Regions from separate parts of the Homo sapiens genome. Here region 1 is linked to region 2. The links are contacts of gene promoters, found by promoter capture Hi-C in human tissues and cell types (Jung and others, 2019). All regions are on one chromosome and are shown on one strand. The core of a region is centred on a gene start or on the middle of the fragment in contact, and the rest is flanking DNA. Distances in the headings are between cores, read along the strand shown. Region 1 holds the start of LOC124903139 (a long non-coding RNA gene). Region 2 holds the start of PDX1 (pancreatic and duodenal homeobox 1).

What was found. The method cuts DNA at HindIII sites, captures the fragments that hold promoters and counts their contacts. A contact is called where the count stands out against the background at its distance.
Region 1: a fragment that was not itself captured here is called in contact with the fragment with the promoter of PDX1 in region 2 in 3 of the 25 tissues and cell types used here (H1 embryonic stem cells, mesendoderm cells and small bowel).

The regions. Positions count from the first base shown.
Region 1 is chr13:27,827,806-27,834,157 of GRCh38, reverse strand. It overlaps PLUT (PDX1 associated lncRNA, upregulator of transcription), which reads left to right. Exons shown (of 5, transcript NR_047484.2): 3 at 8-137. LOC124903139 (a long non-coding RNA gene) reads right to left here and starts at 3,948. Exons shown (of 2, transcript XR_007063734.1): 1 at 3,756-3,948; 2 at 1-876. It also overlaps the pseudogene RNU6-73P. The HindIII fragment of the contact is 3,272 bases long and covers 3,058-6,329 here.
Region 2 is chr13:27,916,042-27,922,343 of GRCh38, reverse strand. It overlaps PDX1 (pancreatic and duodenal homeobox 1), which reads right to left and starts at 2,344. Exons shown (of 2, transcript NM_000209.4): 1 at 1,800-2,344. The coding sequence starts at 2,205. PLUT (PDX1 associated lncRNA, upregulator of transcription) reads left to right here and starts at 5,053. Exons shown (of 5, transcript NR_047484.2): 1 at 5,053-5,194. The HindIII fragment of the contact is 14,480 bases long and covers 1-6,302 here.

The DNA of each region.
Region 1 (6,352 bases), core at 3,444-5,943, 91 kb after region 2:
TTTTTAGTGTGAGCACCTACTATGAGTAAAACCTGGGCTGGTGGCTGGAGAAACATGAAGATGAGTAAGAGCCAATTCCTGTTCTTGGGGATTTAATAATATATTCAAGGGAAAAGACACAAAATAACCATTTCCAGGTAAACTCTGGTGGGGAGGGTGGGAGGAGAACCGTGGTTTGCTTTTGTGCCCAACACTTCACATTCCTTACCTCTTTCTCCCCACCGAGACCTTGAGGAGCAGCCTGAGCCAGAGGACCAGCATCCTCATCTTCTCTCCACCTCTTACTAGGGGGGTGGCTTTGGGCCAGTTTCTTACATTCTTTGGGCCACTTTAGTTTCCTTATTGAAAAATGGGGATAATAATAGTGGCTACATCTCAGTGTGATTCTGAGGAAACCAGAATTGTACATGCAGAGCACATGCACAGAACAGTGCCTGGCACAGTCAGTAATTGATCAATGTGCGCTATTGTTGTTGTGTATATTAGTTCTCCCCTGATACAGATGAGAGCTATCTCTAACTCAGAGACTTGCCACATCATTAAATTAGGAGTGAGAACTGAGCCTGGATAAGGAAGAGGAACAGGAATTCAACACAGTGAACACAGCAGGAAAGGCTTGTGCGAAGGCTCTGGGCTGGAGATGTGTAAAGCATGTCTGGAGATGGGGAAGGTCCATTGGGCCAGGAAACCACAGGCTCTGCTCTCCTGGAGCAGGTGAGGAGTGCAGCAGGCCTCAGGGTGAAAGGAAGAGGGAGAGGAGTGGCCGCGCTGTGGAAGACTTTTCGGGCGGGTGTTCATCCTGCATGTACAGGGAACCAGGAGATATTCTGAGCAGAGTGCCATCAGCCCATTCCTGTCTGGGGAGGATGATGCAACCTGTGAGAGGAGGGAGGGAGAGAGACGGAAGGTGAGGGTGGGGACCGAGCAGAAGAAATGTGGGTAACTCATACATTTGGTTGGTAGGAATGGGTTTCCAATGCCTCAGATGGGAATATGAACCTGAAATGTGTCCTGGTGACTCATGGCATCTTCCTAGATTAAAAACAAACTTTCAGAGACCACGGCTTCTGCTACAGTGTTCACCCCCTCACTGCTTAGGCCTGTGAAATGGTGATGACCCTGGATATAAGGACAAAACAGAGGAGACGAGTTCGAAGGCACTGGGAAGCCAGAGGCTGTGCTTTGAGCATTTTCCAAAGGAGAAGGGATCAGAGGGGGCTTTATCTATCACAAAAGACTTGATGCTTAGGAAGGGAACTTAAGAACCTTCAATGAGACACTATGCCTCTTTCTTTTAGAATTTTGTTTTTAATTGTGGTAACACATGCATATCACAAAGTTTACCAACTTAACCATTTGATGGACAGTTCAGTGGCATTAGGTACATTGTTGTGCAACCATCACCACCATCATCTCCAGAACTCTTTTCATCTTGCAAAACTGAAACTCCGCACCCATTAAACAGCAGCCTCATCCCCGCCACCTCCTCCAGCCCCTGGAAACCATCATTCTCCTTTTGTCTTAATGAATTTGACTGCTCTAGGTATCTCATGAGTGGAATAATACCATATTTGTCCCTTTGTGACTGGCTTATTTCACTTAGCATGATGTCTTTAAAGTCCATCCATGTTGTAGCAGGTGGTACGCATTCCTTTAATTTTAAGGCTGAATAATATGTCATTGTATGTGTATACCACATTTTGTTTATCCATTCATTCACTGATGGACATTTGGGTTATGTCCACCTTTGACTATTGTGAATAATGCTGCTATGAACACATACAAACATCTCTGCAAGTCCTTGCTTCCAATTCTTTTGCGTATATACCCTGAAGTGAAATTTCGGGATCGTATTGTAATTCTGTTTAATTTTTTAAGAAACTGTCATTCTGTTTTCCATAGCAGCTACACCATTTTACATTCCCACCAATAGTGTGCTCCAATTTCTCCACATCCTTGCCAATATAGACTTTTCTCTTTGGGCTAGCATTAAGCTATATGACCAGAACATAACAAGTAGCTGAAGAACCCATCCACCATTTACGTTTATCATTATTTTTTCCTCTGGATGAATTAAGTTAGAAAGAAAGGAGATATTGCTTTAGCTACTAGAGTTTAGCACTTAAACACTTCTTCATGAAATCCAGTTACTCTCAATCAGAGTAAAATAAAACCATGAGGGTTATTTTGAGCCAATCTTCAGGGTTTGAGGTAATGATAGTAATATTCTAAGAGTTCACATTTATATAGGACGTGTTTGTGCTTGGCACTGACCAATCACTTTCTATATATGACCTCATTGAATCCTCCCAACACCCTTAGGAGACAAGCACTATGATCACCTCCACCTGAAGATGAGAGAATTGGGGCCTAGTAAGGTTGTGGCTTGTGTAAAGATGCAGAAAGTTTGCAAGGCAGTGTCCAAGCCCAGCCTACACCATCACACTGCATTCCTACAAAAAGCCACACCCATCAATAGGTGGACATTACCTGTGCAAAAGATGTACGGACAAGAATATTTAATGCAAATGTGTTATAAAAGTTTAACATTGGGCCGGGTGTGGTGGCTCACTCCTGTAATCCCAGCACTTTGGGAGGCCGAGGCGGGCAGATCACCTGAGGTCAGGAGTTCTAGACCAGCCTGGCCAACATGGTGAAACCGCGTCTCTGTTTAAAATACAAAAATTAGCCGGGTGTGATGGAAGGTATCTGTAATGCCGGCTATTCAGGAGGCTGAGGCGGGAGAATTGCTTGAACCTGGGAGGCAGAGCTTGCAGTGAACTGAGATCATGCCACTGCACTCCAGCCTGGGTGACAGAGCCAGACTCCATCTCAAAAAAAAAAAAAAAAAAAAGTTGAACATTGGAAAAAGCTTATATGCCCATCAATAAGGGTTTGATTAAACTAATGAAGGTGCACCCATTGAAGGGAATAGTTATGCATCTGTTAGAAATTATGATGTAGATATATATTAGTTGACATGGAAAAGTGTTCAAGCTATATTGATGATCAAAAAAAAAAAGTAGTTGCAAAGCAATAAGGATGGTGTAATCCAGTGTTAGTAAACTGATATAAATTTGTATTGATACAAGTTTTGATATATAAGTTTAAAAGGCTGGAAAATTATAGAGCAAAAATATTAACAATGATCGCCTTGATGTGGGAGGATTTCTGGCAATTAAAATAATGGCATCTTCTCAATTTTCCTTACAATGTTTATATAATAGAGAATAGAATGAAAGCTTAACAACACACACCACCAACCTTTCACTAAAAGTTTCCCTTGTGCCCCAGACTGGAAATCAGCCCCACTGCATTCAAAGGTGCTGTGACTTTGGACAAGTTCCTTCTCCTCTTTGGGCCTCCTTTTTAATCTAATAATAAAAAGGCGGTTTAATTTCAAAAGTTTCTTCCAGCTCTAACGCTCCTTGATTGAATGACTCCCAATCCCGGCGGAGGTTCTTTAAAAAACGGCCTACTGGGATTTACATGTGGGTAAATGGTCTCTTCAGCCCGTTTTCTTTGATCTAAGTTAGTGCATTGCACCAGTGTTGTGTCAAATCATCCTGGGAAAAAGTAGCTTTTCCCAGAAAGACAAATTTTAACCAAAGTAGCTTTTCCCAGAAAGACAAAATTTAACCTAAGACATTAAAAAAACCAACCAAACAAACAAAAAGCACTACACACTGAACGGACTCCACAAGCCAAGCAGAAAAACAAAAAACAACGAACCACATCCCCCTTCCCACCCTTACCCCAGACTCTTAGCTTCTTTCTGAATATCGCATGTCACCTGTACACCTGAATAGTCATAGTAGCTGGCATTTATTTTTACGGATGTCCATAGAGTCACTTATAGCATTTTCTCCCACAGAAGCACAGCGAAATCACAGCCGAGCAGAGGAGGGCAAGGGAGAGGGCCGCCCCAGTCTGAGAGCTGCAGGGTCTGGCTGGAACTGCTCCCGGCCAGCGGACTTCACCCGGGCGCGGGGGCCGCACCTGCCGGGCGCGGCCTGCTCTATGGCGCCCTCTGCTGTTAGTCCGCCCCAGGCTCCGCGCCGGCCTCTCCTGGGTCCGTGGGGCCTGCGGGCTGCGGGGATCACCGAGACCCACATTCCCGTGGCCAGCAGCCTTTCGCTCTGCTCAGAGGAGAGGCAGAAGGGCATATTGCTGTTTCCCAGTCGCTTTTTACACCTGCCTTCTTCGGATAAACCCAAAAATCTTCCTTCAGAGAAGACGGCCCGTATTTCCCGTTATTTGGGGGTGGAGGTGGGGCTAAGGGCGTCATAGGGAGAGCCTTACTTTCAACATTCTGCATTATGAAACCAAGGGAGACTTTTTTTCCCAACAAGTGTGAACATTTTTTTTCAAGAGAATTAAATCGTTTATTGATTACACATGATAATGGATGACACACAAGCTTCATTCCCATCTCTAATTTTATCTGGTACCGTTATTCAATTTAGATATATTGCATAGGATGTGCCAACAATCACTTTTATCACCAATAATTCCACGATTTTGCTTGAGTAATCCCTTTTAATGGTGAACTTCAGGTCACAACAGTAACTATCAGTTCAACTACACCAAGGTTTCTGAAGACAATGGCTTCTCCGCCCAAGCAGGTTGCATATAAATTCCAAATAGAACCTGGCATCACCCTGAAGGAATTCTAACTTCACACTGTTGGGAAAATTTACCGAGATGGCTTCAGAGTAGACTAACTTTACACAGCACATTTTTTAAAAAAGACATTTATTCAGCGTCACGATCAGACTATTACATTTAGCAATCAACAGCATGGGTGAAAAAAAAATCTACATTAAAACCCTTTGTTGGAATGCTTTACACTTTCCACAGAACAGAAACTAAAATAACCTCTTATACAATTAGTCACAAATACAGTCCTCAAGTTTTTTGCCCATACACGAGTATTTGTCTAAAACATGACTTGTTTGTAGCAGCTAGGCCTTGCCACCACTGTGCTTGGCTGAGTTCACAAACCTCTTGTAACCTGTAGCTTCCTTGTCACTTCTCTGGCTCTCCCTTCCTGCTAAGCTTTGTTTACTAATTAAAATCTTCTGCCAAAGCCATAGCTGCTGCTGCTACTGGATCCACCATAGCCACCTTGGTTTCGTGGTTTGGCAAAGTATTGGCCTCCACCACCACAGGGGCCAGAGCTTCTGCCTCCAAAATTTCCTCCCTTCATGGGTCCAAAATTTGAAGACTGATTATTGTAATTGCCAAAATCATTGTAGCTTCCACTACCTCCAAAATTGCTTCCACTAAAAAATATGGAACGCTTCACGAATTTGCATGTCATCCTTGCACAGGGGCCATGCTAATCTTCTCTGTATTGTTTCAGTTTTAGTATATGTGCTGCCAAAGCTAGCACAAGTGTGAACATTGACTATGCTTCTCACATATCTTTACAGCCCCACTCTAAGGGGACTCTGTCTTGGAGAACCAACTGTTCTAGAATTTTCTAACCTGCCTCCTGCAGCCCCTCTCCCCATTTCTTCTCCTAGGGAGTCTTCCAGATGGTGCAGTTCACCTAGGAACTGCATGTCTGCTTGCTGAGGGTGTGGCAGGAGTCAAGTCACTAAACCTTTATGAGTGAATACTGTCAACCTTATACAGCCCATTCATTTCTTCACCAATTCCATCCATGTCAACTCAACAACTACTCCAGCTGACCCTGGAGCTTGGTACTGGGGATACATCTCATACAAAAGGATGCTTTCCTTCCTGTCCCAAAATGTATCAGCCCCCGAGGGATCATACACAATAGATACACAAATGGTTGCATGTAAATGCAAAGAACATGTTGCAATGAGAAAGAATAATATAGGTTGTGAGCTCACAGGAGGAACATTAAAGCTGAGCCTGCAGGATAAATAAGAATAAACCAGTGAAAAACGCTGAACCATGACTCTGAGATGGGAAGGTGGCATAAATTCCAGGAGAGGCATGTGGCTGGATCATCAGGAATGGGGAGAGCAGAAACCCCAAAGAAGGTTGGAGAATTAGGCAGAGGGCGGATTAGGTGAACCCTGGAGGGCCAAGCTAATAATTTTGAGTCAAATTACAGAGTGCAGTGGAGAGCCCCTGAATTTATTTTTAGTAATTGACATGATCTGAGGTGGGGTTTGCAAGGATCCTTCTGGCTGGTGTGACAGGAGGGAGGCAGGGTGAGGGTAGGAGCCTTGGAGCTGAAGATAGATGGGAAATTGGTTCCTGGTGGTAGCAGTCCAAGTGGCAGGAAGTCGCCAGCCGCAGAGCATGCTTTGAAGGCAGAGTGGAGGACAGGCTGGCATGTTGCCTGTGGGGCTAAGGAGGAGAGAAGTGTTAT
Region 2 (6,302 bases), core at 1,095-3,594:
TTCCCCGAGAGTCGAGCATGCAGCGGGTTAGAGGGCGCCAGCAAAGGCCTGGGGCCAACTCCAGCCCGAGAGTGTCGCCCTCCTTGGGTCCCCGAACCCTCGCCAAGGCTGCTGATTTGCCTTCTGGTTTTACTTTCTGGCTTCTTGGGTCAGCCTAAGCCCAAGTCCTCCAGAGCAGAGGTATCACCCCTTGGGTTGGGATAGGGAAGTTACTCCACCTCACAAATCCTCTTTCGGGACCCTGATGTCGCCCATTTCCTGAGGAAGGCCCAGGGTGGGAAAGCAGGAGCTCCGAGGGCCTAGGAGGCCAGAAGAGAGGTCTGGAGGGGAGGCAGCCCTGGAAGAAAACTGGGTGAGGACGAGGAGCCCCCCACCTTTGTTCGAGGGACTGTCCTCCCGCCTCCTAAGAACCCCGCATTTCCGGAGACTTCAAGGCCTTTGGCCCGGGCTGCGCGAGCTGGATAAATTTGCAGAGGCGCCGCGGCAGCTTCTGGCGCCCCTGTCAACTGGGTTTCGCTGGAGGTGGGGACGATTGCAGCGCAGTTCAGCCCTCGTCCTGCCTCAGGACCTTCGCCTTAGCAAGAAAGTGAACTAGGAAGAAGAGAGTCCCGTGGACCCCAGGCAAGCTGGGGTCCCCCTCCCTCTCCCGCACAAAGCCCCTCCTGGCTGCGCCTGGGGTCAGTGTCAGGCAGGGCTGGCCAGACCCCGCAGATGGGCGCTGAGGATTTTCGGGGTGGGCCGGGGGACGCCGGCTCGAGCTGCTTCCCCCTACTCCCGGCTGCCAGTTGAAAGGAAAAGGCAACTATTTGCGGTGCAGGTGTGACCAGAAGTGGCTGAGGCACGGCAGCGATGACAGTGAGTAGCGGCGACGACACAGGCCGCGCCGGAACTTGCCGCTCGCGCGGGGCCGCAAAGGACCCGGGGGCTACCCCGTGCCTCCGGCTCCCGGCTCCGGGAAAGACCTTCTGTTCTCTGCCGGCGCGGAGGGCCGCAGGAACCAGGCCTCTCGCCTCCCCACCAGCTAGGCAGGGAGCGCCCATCTCCTGAAAAATTACTTCCTGGGAAGCGGTGCGGGGAGACAGCTTCAATTGCTTTCGGTTGGTGAAAAACGAATTCGCTTCTCAGATTGCTCTCCTAGCTGCCAGGCTCTGACGTTGAGAGGCCGGCTTTCAGCCTCGCGGTGAGCCCCCGCCTTGCCCCAGCCCCTTCCTCTTTACTCCTATCCTGTTTCCACAACCAGGGCAGCCGGACACTGCTGGGTTGGGTGCAGTTTCCTTTCCCTCCCTGCCTTTCTGCACCTACCTGGCGCCCCTAGATGCCTGCCCTTCCTTAACGAAGCGCGGGAAGTGAGGGGCTCCGGGGCTCCGAAGGCGATCTGGGGCCTGGGTCCGAGGCACCCATGTCCCTACTCGGCTTCCTCGATGTGCACTACCAAGGAGTCCTGGGTTCCCGGATCCCCTGCTGGAGGAGGATCTGTAGTGTCCGAAGCCCTGAGCAGGACTCAGCCTCGGCTCTCTAAGGATGGCGCTGGGAGCGCGGGCTCCTGGGGCGAAGATGGGCTCAGCGAACAGGGAAGGAAGGAGTGTACACTCCCAGGAGAGCTGGGTGGGAAAGATGCTTCAAACTGGACTAGAGAAGCACTGCTGTGAGGGATGGGCTCGGTAGCTCCCTGATGTAGTTTAGTCCGACCCGGGATAATCCAAGGCGCCGGGAACAGAGAGAAGGCTCCTGGGAGCGCTTGGAGGTAAGGCGGCCGGGTGAGAACCGGAAAGGAGAAAGGGGTGGGGAGCCAGGCTTACCTGCCCACTGGCCTTTCCACGCGTGAGCTTTGGTAGACTTCATCCATGGGAAAGGCAGCTGGACGCGGTTGGGCTCCTCCAGGACGCCCGGCTCGGCTCCCTCCGGGAAGGGCCCGGCGGGCGGGTGGGGGAGCGCGAGCTGAGCCGGGAGGTGGTGGTGAAGGTGCGCCACCGCGGGGTCGTCGGCGAGGGGGGGCACCTCGTACGGGGAGATGTCCGGGGGGCTGCCCTGCTCCAGCGCGCCCAGGGCGCCAGGGAACGGGTGCGGCGGCGGCGGCGGGGGCTGGCGGCCCATGTACAGGCACGCAGGGGGGCTGGCGCTGAACTCCGGCGCCGGGCCTCGCTGGAACGCGCATGGGTCCTTGTAAAGCTGCGTGGCCGCGTAGTACTGCTCCTCGCCGTTCATGGCTGCGGCCCGGGATTGGGCACCGGGAGCCGGGAGCCGGGAGCCGGGAGTCGGGAGCTGGAGCCGGGGATTTGGCACTGTGTGGCGTTCCCACTCCCGGCGCCACCCCTGCTCGCTTTGACAGCTCCGCACTGATCTCAGAGGGAACCCACAGCCAGCGCGGACCGGCGGGCCGGCCGCCGCACCATAGGCTCCGCGGGGCCCCACGTGGTTCAGCCGGGGGCCGTGATTGGCCTGGCTGGCCGCACTAAGAGGCTAGGCCCAGGTACCCGCGAGCACCTGCTTTTGTTCCAATTTTCTCTCTCAGCTGAGTTTGCTGCACACTCCTGAACGGGCAGCTGGCGGTGCTCCCCAAAATGGGCGCTCACGAAAACATTAGAACCACTCATTTATAGAAACATTTTCACCGTGGCTTAAAAGTTTCTATTTTCCTATATTTTTCTATTTTCTATTTTCCTATATTTTTTCTATTATATTTGATAATGGACATAGTGTGTTTGTTAATTGATGTAGTTTACAAGGAGACATGTTGAGTTTTTAATTTTTTATTTAACTGTTGCGGAATACGATAAAAAAAAAGTTTGCAGACCCAGCTCTCTAGGTCAGAAGCATTTGATTCTATTTTATTTATGAAGTTTGTTCACAGCCACAAAGATGTCGGTTAAAAAACACACGAAACTCTGGCATTCGTTGTGTGTTTTTACTTGTGGATGTGCTGCAAGTACTTCTGGGGTGTAAACGGTAACTTCTGAAGCATTCACAGAGACTTTTTTAAATTCTTTTTTTTAAAAAATTGAAGGGTATTACAAATTTGGGTTTTGGAAAATTGGGGCCCATTTGGCCAGCCCGGAACGTAGCTTCCCAATACAGCGAGGGGGAAAGACGCGGCCTTCCTCTTGGGGCTGCGAAGCAGGGGCAGGTGTTGGCACGGGGGTTCCAGACCCTTGACGACTCTCTACGGGCCGGGACCCTGGCGGAGTTTGCCGGCAGAGAACACTCACTCTCTTCTGCTTGCAATTGAAATAAGGCAAGCAGGAGAGGGGGAAGTGGAGGAAGAGTTACATATTTAGAAAAAGAAATAAAAACGCTGCATTTTCCATGATAACATCTGTGCTTGGCTTCAAACCATTCAGTAACTTCTGGGCATTCTGGGGTCCTGACTTAAACAGGGCCACTTTTTCTGCACCCACTGACGCGGATGGATGACCTCCGGGTGGCGGTGACGTCCAACCCCCTGCCTGGGCATGATCCGCTAGGCCTGGCGGCCTGACCAGCCTCTGACTGGATACTCCCGAAATGAGGACGTTTCTCGAAACGCCACCGTGGGTTTTAGAAAAACTAGACAGCTTTGCAGAAACGTCTCAGCAAGAGAGAGCTTGAACCACAAAGAACCAAGCCAGAGAAAAATCACTGCTCCGCCTTTCCTAAACAACGCACCAACATCCAGACCTTTGAGAGTCAATCTTAATGTATTTCTTTCTTCCTACTGGAAATATTTGTGTTTTAAGTGCGGATTGAGTGCTCTATTCTGAGGACTCTTTATTTTTATTAAAAGACAAAAAAGCCAGTCGGGAATGTGGACTTCTCTGCAGATTCCTTCTCTTGCGGGAGGCCGGTATAGTCTCAGCATTTGCTTCGATGTGTGAGAACTCATGTGTGTGGCTTCCTGGCCTGTGGCCTCATGTGTGTGGCTCTGATGTGTGGCTCCCTGGCTTGTAGATGCCCTTGCTGTCACCGAAGACAGGCCAAGGGAAGCACGGCGGCGGGCGGGGAGAGTTTCGGTGATTTCTTCAGGGAAAAGTGCCACCTGCAGTTTTGGTGGGGGCAGAGAGTGAAAGGCCGTGGGGCCCGGGCACCTAATCTCTGTGCGCCCGCGTCAATGAGTCCATTGTCTGCGGCCGCGGAGAACTCTACCCTATCACCCTGGCCGCGAGTGACCACATCGATCAGGAGGGCAGGCTGGAGGGGGTTGCCTGGCCGCGGCGTGTTGACCCTTGGAGATAATCTGCCGAGTCGCCGAGGGTTGACTTGGCGACGCGGTTATGAGCGGACGGCAAGCTCCGCTCAGGACAAAGATCGGCCACTTTTCCCCTCCCCCTCCTTTTCCTCCCCCTTCCCCTCCTCCCTGGGCACCCCTACACCCACTCTGGACTCAGTCTGCGCCCCACTCTCCCTCCCCTGCTCCCTGCCTCGCCTGCCACCCCCGGAGTGTTTACTTTGCACTTCTCAACTAATTGCACATTTCTGTAAATTGGTCTCCATTTCGATGCTTCATTTGCTTCCATTTAATATTTTTGCTCGGCCCTGCAGAAAGAAAAGAGGCTCTCAGCAGAAAGCAAATCCGCCGGTTGCGGTCGCCGGCAAAAACCCGGGTACCCGCGGCTGTGGGGGAGGAGGAGGGGATCGCCGGGGGTATTCCATGGAGGCGCGTTCTCACTTTCACAATTAGCATTTTCTGCTGCCTGCGACCTATAGAAGGGACCCAGGGAGCAAAGGTCAAACAACCATTTATTATTGTTATTATTATTATTAGATGAAACAAAGTTATCTGGAATTTTATCACGTACAGCCGTATAAAAAACGCATCAAGCGGAACCCTCCGCTTAGTAAGGTCGTGTGTTGTACTTCCCCGTGGATCTAGCTCCTGGTATCGTAAAATCGCCGAGTCCATTACAGGCGAAATGCGTTTCCGCTCTGAATCCCCGCTGACGCCTGCGCCCCCTCCAAGCCGCCTCGCCCACAACAGGCCCGGCAGCGATACCGAGCCATTAGGCGAGCACCTTCCCGAGCCATTTAACAGCAGCTCTTATGGATAAATAAACAAAAAAGGCTGTAAACCAATTAAAGTGTGGACAGTGAAAAAGTCGTTTATTAGCTGGACGTCCTGATAGTCCTCGCTGATACTGGAGGTCCTTGCCGGCCCTCTTCCCCCTTTCCCTTCACAGAGACGCGGTTTACACCCGGGAGAACACAGGTTACCTTGTTCTTGGTAAGTGGCTAAGTCTTCCTCGGTGGTTTCAGAGGCATGCTAAGGGCTGAATTTGGCTTGGTGATAGGATTTTTAAGCCACTGCATCCCATTATAAATGAAAAAAACAGATGAATCCCACTTAACTCCAAGGTATACATCATGAATGCACGTGGAATTTATATTCATTTTATAATTAAATCTCTGTTGAAAATAAAAATTGTTTCTTGAGTTGGAAAATTCTGTAAAGCAAACGATGTGATGTGTGGAATGAGAATACTTCTATAATTGATTGCACTTTAGTTCATTAGCATTTCCTTCAATGAGCACTAATGCAGGCAGGTTTTCATTTTCCTAAGTCGAATCAATGTTTCCCTCCTGCTGGTTTATGAATACCCAGAATTGGCCGAGGGCGGTGGCTCACGCCTGTAATCCCAGCACTTTGGGAGGCTGAGACAGGCGGATCATGAGGTCAGGAGATCGAGACCATCCTGGCTAACATGATGAAACCCCGTCTCTACTAAACCTACAAAAAAATTTAGCCGGGCGTGGTGGCGGGCGCCTGTAGTTCCAGCTACTTGGGAGGCTGAGGAAGGAGAATGGCGTGAACCCAGGAGGCGGAGCTTGCAGTGATCCGAGATCGCGCCACTGCCCTCCAGCCTGGGAGACAGAGCGAGGCTCCGTCTCAAAAAATTAAAAATATATATATATATATAAATAAATACCCAGAATTTGGTATCCAGGTCTGAGAGGGGCCAGGGAAACCCAGCTTGGGTTGTGGGGATTGGAGAGAGGAAAGGACCTCAGACTTTGAATGAAGGGTTTTCCAATATTCCTAGGGCTAAGCAATCTAGTGAAAATAAGCAGAGAGCTGAAATTATTTTCCAGATGATTCAGTGATCCCTGAACTGTAAAGATAAAAGCAGCTTAAAAACCGAATTGAATTGGGTAATTGTCTTATTCCCTACCTTGTTAGCTCTCTCTGGTGTAAGAGGAGTAGAAGGGCAGGAGGGGGGACTCCGTGTGCCCCAGAACTGTCTGCTGCTTCCTCCAGCCACTGCTCAACGCTTCCTCCCTGGGAGTGGGGCCCCCAGGCACGAGCTCTTTCCACTTTTGGTTTAATCCTTCCG